Regions from separate parts of the Homo sapiens genome. Here region 1 is linked to region 2. Evidence: promoter capture Hi-C in human tissues and cell types (Jung and others, 2019). All regions are on one chromosome and are shown on one strand. Each heading gives the region's core, a stretch centred on a gene start or on the middle of the fragment in contact. The rest is flanking DNA. Distances are from core to core; before and after follow the strand shown. Region 1 overlaps MKRN1 (makorin ring finger protein 1). Region 2 holds the start of SSBP1 (single stranded DNA binding protein 1).

Evidence for each region. Contacts are between HindIII fragments. The study calls those that stand out against the background at their distance.
Region 1: a contact is called between a fragment that was not itself captured here and the fragment with the promoter of SSBP1 in region 2, in 1 of the 25 tissues and cell types used here (adrenal gland).

What each region holds. Positions count from the first base shown.
Region 1 is chr7:140,473,570-140,476,269 of GRCh38, forward strand. The region is part of intron 1 of MKRN1 (makorin ring finger protein 1); the gene reads right to left. Among named protein-coding and RNA genes, the nearest start is that of MKRN1, 4.6 kb to the right of the region's middle. The HindIII fragment of the contact is 7,012 bases long and covers 1-2,700 here.
Region 2 is chr7:141,736,908-141,739,607 of GRCh38, forward strand. It overlaps SSBP1 (single stranded DNA binding protein 1), which reads left to right and starts at 1,451. Exons shown (of 7, transcript NM_003143.3): 1 at 1,451-1,503; 2 at 2,217-2,283. The coding sequence starts at 2,260. WEE2-AS1 (WEE2 antisense RNA 1) reads right to left here and starts at 1,135. Exons shown (of 4, transcript NR_199841.1): 1 at 476-1,135. RefSeq lists an enhancer at 468-1,353. The HindIII fragment of the contact is 9,000 bases long and covers 561-2,700 here.

The DNA.
Region 1 (2,700 bases), core at 74-2,573, 1.3 Mb before region 2:
TTTGATATTTAACTTTTAATGAGTGAGTATACCATTTATCAAACTAGATTATAAATTCCTGATGGGTAAAGACTGGTTTATTCCCCTTTTTATCTCCAACTATCTGTGCACATAATATATACTTGTTAGAAAAAGGTAGAAAGCCGGGTTCGGTGGCTCATGCCTGTAATCCCAGCACTTTGGGAGGCCAAGGCGGGTGGATTACCTGAGGTTGGGAGTTTGAGACCAGCCTGACCAACATGGTGAAAGCGGTACCTACTAAAAATACAAAAATTAGCCGAGTGTGATGGTACAAGCCTGTAATCCCAGCTACTCTGGAGGCTGAGAGAGGAAAATCGCTGGAACCCAGGAGATGGCGATTGCACCGAGCCAAGATTGTATCACTGCACTCTAGCCTGGGCAACAACAGCGAAACTCCGTCTCAAAAAAAAAAAAAAAAGAAAGAAAGAAAGAAAGAAAGAAAGAAAGAAAGAAAGAAAGAAAGAAAGAAAGAAAGAATAAAAGACTGTAGGGTGGGCCCGGTGGCTCACACCTACAATCCCAGCACTTTGGGAGGCAGAGGCAGGTGGATCACCTGAGGTCAGGTGTTCAAAACCAGCATGGCCAACATGGTGAAACCCACTATCTACCAAAAATACAAAAATTAGGCCAGGTGCGGTGGCTCACACCTGTAATCCCAGCACTTTGGGAGGCTGAGGCAGGTGGATCATGAGGTCAGGAGCTCAAGACCATCCTGGCTAACACAGTGAAACCCTGTTTCTACTAAAAATACAAAAAAAACAAACAATTAGCCAGGCATGGTGGCACACACCTGTAGTCCCAGCTACTTGGGAGGCTGAGGCAGAATTGCTTGAACTCGCAGTGGGTTGGGGGGGGCCCAGAGGTTGCAGTGAACCAGGATCACGCCACTGAGACTCCGTCTCAAAAAAAAAATAAATAAATAAAAGGCTGTAGAAGACAGCTAGATGTGATGGTGAATCATGGTAGCGATAGCAAATTAATTTTTCTTTCCCAGTTGCATAATCTTTTTAATACCATTTAATATTTATTACTTATTTCCTCTCACAACCACTATGTAGTTTCCAAGTAATAAATTTCACTATGGACGTCACAGCACTCAGATAAAGAATTTCTGAAGGATTTCCTTCTTTCTTTTTTTTTTTTTTTGAGACGAAATCTCACTCTGTCACCCAGGCTGGAGTGCAGTGGTGCAATCTTGGCTCACTGCAGCCTCTGCCTCTTGGGATCAAGTGATTCTCCCACCTCAGCCTCCAGAGTGGCTGGGATTACAGGTGCCCGCCACCACGCCCAGCTAATTTTTGTATTTTTAGTAGAGAACGGGTTTCGTCATGTTGGCCAGGCTGGTCTCGAACTCCTGACCTCAAGTGATCCACCTGCCTTGGCCTCCCAAAGTACTAGAATTACAGGGGTGAGACACCACGCCCAGCTGATCTTTAAGTTACGTTAACCACATTTTTAAAAACTTTTGAGGCCAGGTACGGGGGCTCATGCCTGTAATCCCAGGACTTCGGGAGGCCAAGGTGGGTGGATCACCTGAGGTCAGGAGTTCAAGACCAGCCTGGGCAACATGGTGAAACCCCATCTCTACTAAACGTACAAATAATTAGCCGAGTGTGATGGCACGTGCCTGTAATCCCAGCTTCTCGGAAGGCTGAGGCACCAGAATTCCTTGAACCCAGGAGGCAGAGGTTGTAGTGAGCCGAGATCGTGCCACTGCACTCCAGCTTGGGCGACACAGACTCCATCTCAGAAAACAAACAAACAAACAAACAAAACACAACTTTCAAGGCCAAGCATGGTGGCTCACACCTGTAATCCCAGCACTTTAGGAGGCCGAGGCGGGTGAAACACTTGAGCTTAGGAGTTCAAGACCAGCCTAGGCAACAGGGTGAAACCCTGTCTCTATCAAAAATGCAAAAAAAAATTAGCCTGGGGTGGTGGCACGTGCCTGTAATTCCAGCTACTGGGGAGGTTCAAGCAGGAGGATTGCTTGAGCCTGGGAGGTGGAGGCTGCAATGAGCCAAGACACTGCCACTGCATTCCAGCCTAGGGGACAGAGCGAGACCCTATCTCAAAAAATACAAATAAATACAAATAAAAATCAAGAAAAGAGTTTTTTGAAAAATTAAAAATTAAACACTTGTTTTTTTGTGTATTATTTCAACTACCAGAACACTTATCTGCCATTATAGAAGCACTCTAATAAAGAGGGGTCTAAATTCAAATTACAACTTCTCTTTAAGTATTAACTGTTCTAACCTCACACACTCAAGGTAACTCAAGGTAGCAGATGCAATGAGCATTTCTGTTTCTTAGTATTGCTCTAATAAAAGATATGAAAAACAGCCTGGTGGTGGCAGCATAACACAGTTTCTGAGGAAAGGTATAAAACACAATGAAAACCCCAGGAGAAACATTAGAAAAAATGTAACCAGTAGGAAAATACAGGTGATTCCGAGCAATTAAAAACATTCTAATCAAAACTTCTAAGTGAAGAAAATAGCTTTAGTCAAATTCCTAGATACAGGAGTGATGTGCTATAGGGAGAAATGAGCACAAACACTAAAACACACCTCTACCTGATTCTTTAGGTGATGTTTACCTAGCAAACATATTGAAAATGTTTATTTATAATACAGTACATACATCTGCACTCTCTTGAACACCTAATATTGTGTC
Region 2 (2,700 bases), core at 201-2,700:
TGTGTGTTTATGTCTTAGTTTTTTTAAAAAATGGCTAAAAAGTTAAAAAAAAAAAGAAAAAAAGCAAAGGTAGAAAAAAGCTTGTAGAATAAGGATATAAGAAAAATATTTTTGTACAGTGGTACAGTGTGTGTTTTAAGCTAATTGTTATTACAAAACAGTTAAAACGTAAAAAAATTTGGAAGATTTATAAAGTTATAGTGAGTGAAAGTTTATTAAAGGAAGAAAAGTATTTTTTATAAACTGAGTGTAGCCTAAGTGTACAGTGTTTATGAAGTGTTTAGTGGGTACAATAATGTCCTAGACCTTCATGTTGGGCCACCACTCACTCATTTACTCACCCACAGCAACTTCCAGTTCCGCAAGCTCCATTCATGGTAAGCGCCCCATACAGGTGTGCCATTTTTATCTTTTATACCGCATTTGTACTGTACCTTTTCCATGTTTACATATGTTTAGACACACAGATACTTACCATGAATTACAATGGTCTGCGGTATTCAGTACAGCCCCATGCTGTCAGGTTTGCAGCCTGGAAGCAGCAGGCCACACCACAGAGCCGAGGTGTGTCCAGGCTCCACCATCTAGGTCGTCAAAGTACATTCTGTGGTGTTCGTACAGCAACAAAATCGCCTAATGACGCAATCCTCAGACCTTACCCTGTTGTTAAGGTACACATGACTCTTATTTTGTTCCTCCCGGATTTCCTGCATTAATTTTTACTTTTTAAAATATTACATTAATATATTATTTGATTGCCAGTTTTTCTGGTGCTCCCTTAAATTGCACAGCCTGCCAGCCCTTCCCTGGCTCCCCTTTCTTTTTCTGCTTTTCTTAGTGCTTCAACAGACCTGGGACGTTCTTTTTCTTTCTTTTTTTTTTTAATTTTCTTCTTTTTTTCTTTTTCTTGTTTTGTTTTGTTTTGTTTTGAGATAGAGTTCGCTCTGTTGCCCAGGCTGGAATGCAGTGGTGCGTTCACGGCTCAATGCAGCAACGACCTCCAGGGCTCAGGCGATCCCCCGACCTCAGCCTCCGGAGAAGCTTGGACCACAGGCGCGCGCCACCACGCCCAGCTAATTATATATTTTTTGTAGAGACAGGTCTCACTATGTCGCCTAGGCTGGTCACAAATGTTGCTTTTTTTTCCCTCCAGGCAGAGCTAGTCTCTGTTTTGCCTACCTCGCCCCCTCCTGGGCCCAGTTAGAAACCTCATCACATAATTTCATTTCTTTCCAAACTTGAAACCTTCTAAACTTGAAACCTTCTAAACTTGAAACCTTCCAAACTCACCACTTGGCGGCGTTGATCCATCCGCCCGCGCACAAAGAGAAGATCGCGGAACTTCAGAGTTAAGGGGAGCCGTTTCCCGCAGCGCTAGCCGGCAGTATTTCCAAGGCGCAAGTTGCGGAGTTTCTGTTTCCTTTTTCCTCTGGCGAGCTTTGCGTTCCCTGTGCGCCGGAAGTGATCCCCTGCGTGGCTGGGCTGCTCGGGTTAGATCGTCAGGTGAGGGAGGAAGGGATAGCCAGCGCGAAGGAAGTGCTGGAGTCGTGTGTTTTGGCTGCGCGTGATCCTGCGTGGGTCGGGAGGTGTTTCTGTGTAGGTGTCTGGCCCTTTCATCAGTCGTGCGGAGGACCGCGTGATTTCCTTCCAGTTCTCCTCGGTTTTCAGGTGGTGGCGCCATCTTCGGTAAAGGGTGTCCACCTCTCCCTATGGTGTGGCTGGCTAGCCCGGGGGTCTCTACGCTGCTTGGTCTTTGTTAACGGAGATGAAGGCAGTAATTTTTCAGTAACAGGTTTCAGATATAAGTCCCTTGGTGATGCTAATATTTATGGAGGCCTTACTATGCATTAAGAACTTTTTTAGAAGTTTAGAAAATGGCAGTGAATAAAGCAGATACAAATCTCTGCTCTAAGGGAGCTTGCATAGTAATGAAATTTGAGAAGACAGTGGATTGGAAGTGGGATTAACTCAGAATCAAAATTTTGTCGATGGGTTGGAGGAAGAGGAAGTTATTTGGGACCAAAAAGACATACAGGTGTGAGTTTATTTGGGAGGGAGGAAGGAATCCTCATCAGATGTGCAGGAATGTTGGTACGTTGTGGTCACAAAATTGGAGTGCATAAAAATTATGAATATAGTTAGGAATTTAGGACTGGTGAGTTGTACTTTTGCCATAAGAGGTAATGTTTTTTTCTTATTTTGTTTTTTTCCTTCAGGAAAAGCCTAAAGATTAGACTGTAAGAAAAGAAAATAGAAGCCATGTTTCGAAGACCTGTATTACAGGTAGTCACTTGTCTGTATTAATACTGAGATGTATTACTATCAGCCACAGTGATCAGAAGACTTCTTTAGGCTTTTAACTACAGGGGCAAAAGACCTTTGAGCTCACCCACCCACCTCTATACTCATTTGATATGGAGGATTGGGGACGATTTTGCCAGTGTAAATTATGTTCACTAAAACAAAAAAAAAGTTCAGGTTTATTCACACGTAATAGGAATCATTAATTTTTAAAATGTGTGTGTGTTGCTTGAATTTAACCAGTGAGAGGACATTAAAGGTCTTTAGTGACCTAAAGACTGTAGGAATCATTGTTCCAACTTTTTTCTTAAGGCATGTAGTTGCTTTTTTGACCATCTACCTCCTGTGTTGCTAAACGTTCCTCTTCCCCCATCTTTCCACACTGAAGAGAGCATCTCA